Regions from separate parts of the Homo sapiens genome. Here all the other regions are linked to region 3. The links are contacts of gene promoters, found by promoter capture Hi-C in blood cells and fetal thymus (Javierre and others, 2016). All regions are on one chromosome and are shown on one strand. The core of a region is centred on a gene start or on the middle of the fragment in contact, and the rest is flanking DNA. Distances in the headings are between cores, read along the strand shown. Region 1 overlaps BRCA2 (BRCA2 DNA repair associated). Region 2 overlaps BRCA2 (BRCA2 DNA repair associated). Region 3 holds the start of FRY-AS1 (FRY antisense RNA 1).

Region 1 (2,916 bases), core at 106-2,605, 310 kb after region 3:
GTCTCTACTAAAAAAATACAAAAAATTAGCCGGGCGTAGTGGCGGGCGCCTGTAGTCCCAGCTACTTGGGAGGCTGAGGCAGGAGAATGGCGTGAACCTGGGAGGCGGAGCTTGCAGTGAGCCGAGATCCCGCCACTGCACTCCAGCCTGGGCGACAGAGCGAGACTCCGTCTCAAAAAAAAAAAAAAAGTTGGTTTCCGATTATACCATTTACTGGGTAATATATACTACTTAGTTACACTACTTACATAGCTTCAGTTTCCTTATCTATAAAATGCAAATAACACCTCCCATGAGGGCTGGGCGTGGCGCTCATGCCTGTAATCCCAGCACTTTGGGAGGCCGAGGTGGGTGGATCACCTGAGGTCAGGAGTTTGAGACCAGCCTGACCAACATGGTGAAACCCCATCTTTACTAAAAATACAAAAAATTAGCCAAGCGTGGTGGCGCGCACCTATAATCCCAACTACTCCAGAAGCTGAGGCAGGAGAATCACCTGAACCTGGGAGGTGGAGGGTGCAGTGAGCTGACATCACACCACTGCTCTCCAGCCTGGGCAACAGAGCGAGACTGTCTCAAAAAAAAAAAAAAAAAAGTGTATTTAAAGCACTTAGCAGTGAACTTGACATATAGTAGGCAGAGAGCATTCAGTAAGTGTTGGCTTGCTCCCTTTTTTTCATTTAGGAAGTGATCTAAAAACAGTATTGTTAGTAAATGGTATCTTGATCTTAATGTTATGTGGACTATTTTAACTTCCCTTTTAAATGTATATATATCTAACAACTTAGTTCAACTACAGTCATGTGTCATTTGACAGGGATATATGTTCTGAGAAATAGATTGTTAGATTTCATCATTGTGGGAACATCATAGAGTATACTTACACAAACCTAGGTGGTATAGCCTACTATATACCTAGGCTGTATGGTATAGCTTATTGCTCCTAGGCTGCAAACCTATACAGCATGTTACTGTCCTGAATACTCTAGGCAGTTTTAACACAGTGGCAAGCATTTGTGTATGTGAACATAGAAAAGGTACAGTAAAAATACGGTATTAAAATCTTATGGGGCTGGGCTCAGTGGCTCATGCCTGTAATCCCAGCACTTTGGGAGGCTGAGGCAGGCGGATCACCTGAGGTCAGGAGTTTGAGACCAGCCTGGCCAACATGGTAAAACCTTGTCTCTACTAAAAATATAAAAATTAGCTGGGCATGGTGGTGGCACACGCCTGTAATCCCAGCTACTAGGGAAGTTGAAGCAGGAGAATCACTTGAACCCTGGAGGCAGAGATTTCAGTGAGCCAAGATCGCACCACTGCACTCCTGCCTGGGCGACAGAGCAAGACTCCATCTGAAAAAAAAAAAAAATCTTATGGGACCACTATTAAAGTCTTATAGGATGACCATTGCATATGTGGTCTATTGTTGACCAAAATGTCATTATGTGGCAAATGACTGCATTAGGTTAACCTTATACATACCTATATTAGGTATGTATTTGGTTTTGTTTTTTTGTGTGTGTTTTTTTCTATTAGTGTATCTGACTGGTAATAATCTTAAATAATTGAATCTGTTTGTTAGTTGCAATTAAAGCAAATGCCAAAACTCCAACATTTCAGTGGATAATCTTAAATAACTAGTTCCTTTTTAAAAAACCTATAAACTCATAAAAATATTTTAGTTATTAGAACTCTTCCTGTCTAGACCCCATGTATTACAGAGAGACACCGAAGTTAGTCTCCTCATTCAAAAAGTGCCTTTTGCCCCTAAGTCATTCTGGTGGATACAGATTTACTTAATCAAGTGTTGTCCAGGTCACATTCAATATAGGATTTACTTTATGGACAAAGTAGTACGTTTATAGTACTTAAACTATTTGCTGTCCTTTAGTGTGAAATTCTGAGGTATATATGCTTAAAGATATTTGTAATTCTTTTGTGGAAAATAATGGCTTTATTTATAGCAACCCATTCTGTTCTTGTGCATACTGAAGTATATTGACTTTCCACCTAGGGAAAAAAAAAACAATAACTCAGACTTGTAAATGCTTTCAACGGTGTTACTACTTAATTTCCCTCATTTCTGTAACATATAAGTGTATAACTTAGTCAGCTTCTGGTTACTGGAACAGTACAGGTCACTGTTAAACAATTAAACCACTTTTATAATAATCTAACACCTCCTAAAGCCTTGCATGGACATTTTTACTTATTAAATTATACAAATTTATTCCCTGTAATAAAGCATCAAAAAGCAAAGTACCTGTTATATATTATCTCAGCATGACATGGAAATGCCTACCTTGAATTATGGTTTAATCTTACCCTCTTAGCCTCTGTAGAATTTTTAAATAAGAATTGTTTCTATTACTAGTACTTTAATGTAATTTGATAATTGTAAAAAGCCTCTTAACTCTAATTCAAGGACCTACATAATAAATTACTCCTTCAGTTAATGGCTGCCCCCGTGCTGAAAAAAAAAAAAAAAAAGAGAGAAAAAGTTTATTTGAAGAAATTTTGTTAGGCCTTATTGCCAGTAAACCTAGAGTTATATTTAGTGTCAGTTTTTCAAAAAGTAGCTTATCTGTGGTATCTGGTAGCATCTGTTTATCCTATTTAGGATTTATCCTGTTTAGACCCTGTTAAATAGTGGTGTTTTAAAGTGGTCAAAACAGAACAAAAATGTAATTGACATTGAAGACTGACTTTACTCTTTCAAACATTAGGTCACTATTTGTTGTAAGTATTTTTGTTTAACATTTAAAGAGTCAATACTTTAGCTTTAAAAAAATGGTCTATAGACTTTTGAGAAATAAAACTGATATTATTTGCCTTAAAAACATATATGAAATATTTCTTTTTAGGAGAACCCTCAATCAAAAGAAACTTATTAAATGAATTTGACAGGATAATAGA
Region 2 (2,500 bases), core at 1-2,500, 360 kb after region 3:
TCACCACACATTTTGGTATTTTTCTATTTTGACAGTCCAGTATCAAGGAAATAGCTTTTATACAAATTGGATAGTTGAGGTAGTATGTGAGGTAAAGTTTAATCATATATTAATTGCCCATGAACCTCAGGAGATGGGGGAATGGGGAAATGACAGCAACTAGAAAGAGAAGAATGACTTGAAGGGAAATGAGTTAGGAGAAATTGTGAGAAGGATGTTCAGAAATGCAGACTTTGTAAGCAAACTGGAAATTGGTTACAAGAATAATATGAGTTATCTGTGGTTTGCAGCAGTCAGCAGTGTGATTAGTTAATAATATAGAGACTACAGGTTTACATTTAAACTCCATATCTAGTGTTTTATACAGATTATATTTCTTTGACTTGATTTAATCCCAGATAAGAGACACTGATATTATTTTCCCTAGATCATGTATGCATTTTCTGCTTAAATCTATATATACATTATATAATATTAGCTGGTGTTTATTGAGTGTTTACTATGTGTCAGACCTTGTTCTAAGCTTCTCATTTAATTCTCCCACAACCTTATGAGGTAGGGAACTGTTTTTCTATTTTATCAGTGAGAAACAGGTTAAATGGCTTGCCTTAGGTCAAATGCCAAGTTAGTAAAACTAGGATTCATACTTAGGCCATCGAATGCAGAACCCAGACTAGGAACTGCTATGCAATGCTGCTTCCCAGTAAAATTTGAGATTTCATGAGTTGGTAACTAGTGAAGAATACACAAAAAATAAGCCTCTTAATTCTGTAGTTTAATATTTGAAATGTGTGTTATTCAGAATTTATATAAAAATATATTTTAAAAGCATTAGAGTAGCTGTATAAAGAAAGCTGTGTTGACATTTTACCTAGAGACTCTATGCATAATGAATAACACTCTGCTATATCTAGTTTCTAAATTAGGGGTGGGAGTTGTATTCATTATTTAGTTCCCATACAGCATATCTACTGTTTACACCCCACATTTTCTTTTTTTCTTTCTTTCTTTTTTTTTTTTTTTTTTTTTTTTTTTTAGAGACAGAGTCTTGCTTTGTCACCCCCAGGCTGGAGTACAATAGCACAATCTCGGATCACTGCAGTGTCTGCCTCCTGGGCTCAAGCGATTCTCGTGCCTTAGCCTCCCAAGTAGCTGGGACTACAGGTGCGTGCCACCACGCCCAGCTAATTTTTGTATTTTTAGTAGAGACATGGTTTCACCATGTTGGGCAGTCTGGTCTCGAACTCTTGGCCTCAAGTGATCTGCCCACCTTGGCCTCCCCAAGTACTGGGTTTACAGGCATGAGCCACCGAGCCCGCATTTTCTCTGAGACGTCTTCAAAGGCAGTTTACTAATCCTGCTGAAGAGACAACTGTCATTTACACAGCATTTTAAAGTTTTACAAAATACTGTCATGAATTAGGTTAAACCATATGAAATTGCTGATATTTGACCAGTTGTGATTTCTCAAGCAACAGTTTCATGTAGTTTAACCTATAAATCATTTCAATTAATTCTTGGAACAGACGTGAGGTAGGTGAGGCAATTCTTTCTTTTCTCTAACCAAAGAAGTACCTTTATAGATGTGAGATGATTCCCAGCTATTAAGTAGTAAATAGAGCTAGGACTTGAGCCCCAATCTTCCAGCTTCAATCCAGATCATATGACAGCTTGCTGATTAAACTAGATGACAGAGAAGATCTCTTTCCTTCAGATACACATACTTTTTCTCTGTTCCCCTCTCCCTATCAGCTAGATTCCCCTAAATCACTGATACTGGTTTTGTAATTTTGCATCGGCATGTTTGACAATTGGTATCACATTTAGGGTTTTTCATTCTTTTTTGGTCCAAACTTTTCATTTCTGCTTTTAAAGGAAATACTTTTGGAAACATAAATATGTGGGTTTGCAATTTATAAAGCAGCTTTTCCACTTATTTTCTTAGAATATTGACATACTTTGCAATGAAGCAGAAAACAAGCTTATGCATATACTGCATGCAAATGATCCCAAGTGGTCCACCCCAACTAAAGACTGTACTTCAGGGCCGTACACTGCTCAAATCATTCCTGGTACAGGAAACAAGCTTCTGGTAAGTTAATGTAAACTCAAGGAATATTATAAGAAGTATATATGGAGGCCATCGTATATTCTGTTGTATACCTAGTAAACATGGTAAAATGTAATTAAACTTAATTAGAAAATGTGGTTGTTATGTGGCTCCTGTAAGTATAGTTATTTAGAAATTTTATTTATTGAAGCAAGATATGAAACTCTGGGTGCACACTTTCCAAACAGGTGCTTTCATTTACATGTGATTGAAAAGTGTTTTTTGTCATTTATTTCACTGTTCCATACAATTAGGGTTGTTTCTAAGCTGTTTGTAAGCTGTTTCTAAGCTATTTAAGTGGTTAAATCACAGTAGATGCAAATCAAGCTAAAGTCTTTAACATTGGCTAATGGCTGATTCTTAAATAGCTAATACTTGCTAAGGGTATCT
Region 3 (3,212 bases), core at 430-2,929:
CATCGTTAATCGCAGGGCACTGTGCAGCCTACCTGTTCATTCACTGCCATCTGAGTCTTGGCAAGCATCAGATGGGCGTAGGTATGAAATTTATTTTCAGATATAATAATTGTTTCAAGGTAAAACCTTTGGGTCTTATTTTACCTAGAATCCATACATTCAAAGTACAAGTGATAAAATCAGTTCAGCAACTCTAGTATGCACATGAATTAAAAAGAAGTCAATCTGGTGAGAGATTTCATCAGAATAAAGTGTATAAGTGGAGTTGGAAATCTGAGTGATTGAGTGCTTGCCATTTGGGTAAGTGTAATGAGTTTGAAAAACTAATTGTATTGATGAAGTATCTTAGGGCCTTTCAGAACATAGTTCTAGAAGTTTTATTTAGTGTTGAATTTTAAAAATTCTTTGTCCTAACAATAAAAGTACATTGTAGTCTTTCCCTTCCATTTTTAAAATGAACTGTTAATCTAGGAAGTCCTGTTTGTGTGTTGATTTGGGGAGTTAGCCCAACATTTGCTATGTTAAATACTTATTAACATGGTTTATTACTTTTTTCTGTTTTTTAGACAACATTAATCATGAATGTACTGGGACTTGGGAAGGATCCTGTGGTTTATGAGATAGTTGGCCAAATCCCACCTCTTCCAACATAACCTGTCATTATTAAAATATAATACTCTTATTTAATCCCCTGGTCAAGCTAAATGATAATGTGAAACAAAGCTAACCAAAATCAGGACACCTGATATCAAGAATTCATGAAATCAAGAGCCATTGTAGAGCAAGGAATCTAATGCTTTTGCTTCTTATCCTTTTCATACAAATAAAATAAGCTTCACTGGGCTTAGTGAGTCTTAGAAATGAGAGGTTTGAGAATAAGATCCATTGTGGAGTGTGTGACATTACAAAAACAAGCCAACTAAGCAGTGTGTACTGTCCCCTTAGAGTGCACACGTTCGGGCTCCGATGCCCCTTGAAAAGACTGCATTTCTGGGAGGGAAAAGTAAAAATGCAGATACCACCATGCGTGTGGAAGGCAGGGAAGAAAAAGCCCAGACAAGCGTCCTCTTGTTGAGTCTCTTTACTGCAACGAGGCTGACGGATGGGGTTTTTCAAAACGTCGCTGCAACCAGATGCAAGGCTGCAGCTTTGCTTACCGCAGCGTGCTGCAGTTGTGTTTATTTCAGGGACAGACACAAGGGGAAGCAGCAGCCAGAGCACACCCGGGCCGCTCACGGGAAGCCTTGCTGAAGAGAGAGGATCCGCAGAAGCTGGGAAATTCCTCCCGCAGCCTAGGCGGAGACTGAGCCGCGGCTCAGGTTGAGACAGTGGGCAGGGGCAGGGGGCGGCGCTCCCGGCCCATCCCTTAGCCCCGCGGCGGCCGTGTGGGCCGGAGGCTGCCTGCACCGCGTCAGGGAGGCCGGCCTAGAAACCCTCCCTCCCAGAAGAAAGCCGATCCCAGTTCAGGTGGGGTCTTCCTCGGTTGCGTACCTGGCTGGAGCCGAGCTGGTGGGCGGCCGGCAGCCGGCGTTTCTGGTGATGACAGCCCCGAAATGAAAGCAGCGCGGCCGCCGCCTCCGAGGGCTGCAGGGAGATCAGCGTCCAGCAAATAAGAAGCAAGTCCTGGACCCGGAGGAGGAGGAGCGGCCGAGCATCTCTCTCTGCTCCGCCGTGTCCTTTAGATGAGCACTCCCGGCCGGAGCCGGAGGTGGATCCGCAGAGCTGCCTCTGGGCGCCTGACCCCGCGCTGACATCACAACCTGTGACAGGCGCATCACGCCCGGTACCTGCTCCCGGCCGCTGCCCGTCCTCCCAGCCTCTTTGTATGCCGCAGACATGGCCAGCCAGCAGGATTCGGGCTTCTTTGAGATCAGTATCAAATATTTACTGAAATCCTGGAGTAATAGTGAGTAATAGAAAATAACCTTTTTGTTTGTTTGTTTGCTGGATGTTGCATAAGGCTGGAGACAGAAAATCTCAACTGGACACATATGTTTGTGAGCCGCGGAAGTTTTTCTTTTTTTCTTTTCTTTTCTTTTCTCTTTCTTTCTTTCTTTCTTTCTTTTTCTTTCTTTCTTTCTTTCTTTTTTTGCTCCCATCTGCTGTGAAAATCAAAATGTCAGAGACTGAACTAGCTTTCCTTAAGTGCAAAGGCTGCAATGGAATTACAGTAGATTGTGTTTGATTAAATTTTCAAGTGAGGCAGCCCTTCAGACTCTGGGGGAGCTCAGGATCAGGCATTCCTGGCTGCATTTCCTGCCTTGATGTTTATTTGATTTGTTCAGGCTTTCTCTAAATATTTTGTGAAGTGTGATTTAATCAAAGGGGTGTGGCAGGGTTTCAGAGTACTTTGTAATTGTTTTTTTAGGGTATTGTCTGAAGAAAGAAAAGTATTTAATAGTCCAAAACCTAGGACATCCTTTTTGTATATAGAGGCATCTGCAGATTTATTTCATCTCTCCCTCTTCCATGTGGATGATGTTCTGAATGCCATTTAATATTTGAATTTTTAAAAATCCTGATGTTTGCTATAGTCCAAATATTGTGCTTTTTTGAAACATAAACAAGTGAGGTTCTGACCCTAATTATTTATTAGGATAGCAGAATATGATGGCTCCTGAAGTTCCATTTCTGACCTACATAAGGATTTTAGCAATACGCTATTTCAAAAAGACAACCTCTAAGCTGCCGTGGATCTGGAATCAAATTAAAATGAGGCCTTCAGGTGATCAATGATGCCTTGTATTTTCCGAACTGTTTAAAAAGAAAGTCTTCTCTATTTCACTAACAGCCTTTGTACTTGCTTTGGATAAAAGATCAGCAGGTATTACTGATGCTTTATTGTTTTAAATAAAAAAATTTTTTCCCCGTGAAAATTTTAATATTGTATTATGTGCATACTGATTAACCTACCTGTGCTCAAAGAGCTAGTGATTAATTGTCTCCTACACAAATGACCTGTGGCCAAGATTGTTCTTATATAAACAAAACCTGGGCAGGAGAACCTGTGCTGCAATTGCTTTGAGGAAAAGAGCTAAAGTACCTTCAGCCTTAAGGTATTCAGGGATGTGCATCTCTAAATGATATCCATAGAAACCATTTTTTCCAGGTCATTTTGCACCACTGTATACACTATGGGGCTTGTCTGAAGCTGTTTTTCTACAAGTGGGAAGCCATTTGGGAGTAATACTGTTGCCCAAACAGCATTCTTT

The links. Contacts are between HindIII fragments. The CHiCAGO score rates a contact against its expected background, and 5 or more counts as called.
Region 1: a fragment that was not itself captured here is called in contact with the fragment with the promoter of FRY-AS1 in region 3 in 1 of 17 cell types (megakaryocytes); the score reaches 6.5 in megakaryocytes.
Region 2: a contact is called between a fragment that was not itself captured here and the fragment with the promoter of FRY-AS1 in region 3, in 1 of 17 cell types (endothelial precursors). The highest score is 5.5, in endothelial precursors.

The regions. Positions count from the first base shown.
Region 1 is chr13:32,341,694-32,344,609 of GRCh38, forward strand. BRCA2 (BRCA2 DNA repair associated) reads left to right here. Exons shown (of 27, transcript NM_000059.4): 12 at 2,865-2,916. Among named protein-coding and RNA genes, the nearest start is that of BRCA2, 28 kb to the left of the region's middle. The HindIII fragment of the contact is 3,996 bases long and covers 1-2,916 here.
Region 2 is chr13:32,394,953-32,397,452 of GRCh38, forward strand. It overlaps BRCA2 (BRCA2 DNA repair associated), which reads left to right. Exons shown (of 27, transcript NM_000059.4): 26 at 1,946-2,092. Among named protein-coding and RNA genes, the nearest start is that of N4BP2L1, 32 kb to the right of the region's middle. The HindIII fragment of the contact is 1,458 bases long and covers 522-1,979 here.
Region 3 is chr13:32,029,960-32,033,171 of GRCh38, forward strand. It overlaps FRY-AS1 (FRY antisense RNA 1), which reads right to left and starts at 1,680. Exons shown (of 4, transcript NR_103839.1): 1 at 1,492-1,680. It overlaps FRY (FRY microtubule binding protein), which reads left to right and starts at 1,815. Exons shown (of 61, transcript NM_023037.3): 1 at 1,815-1,906. The coding sequence starts at 1,837. The HindIII fragment of the contact is 3,062 bases long and covers 832-3,212 here.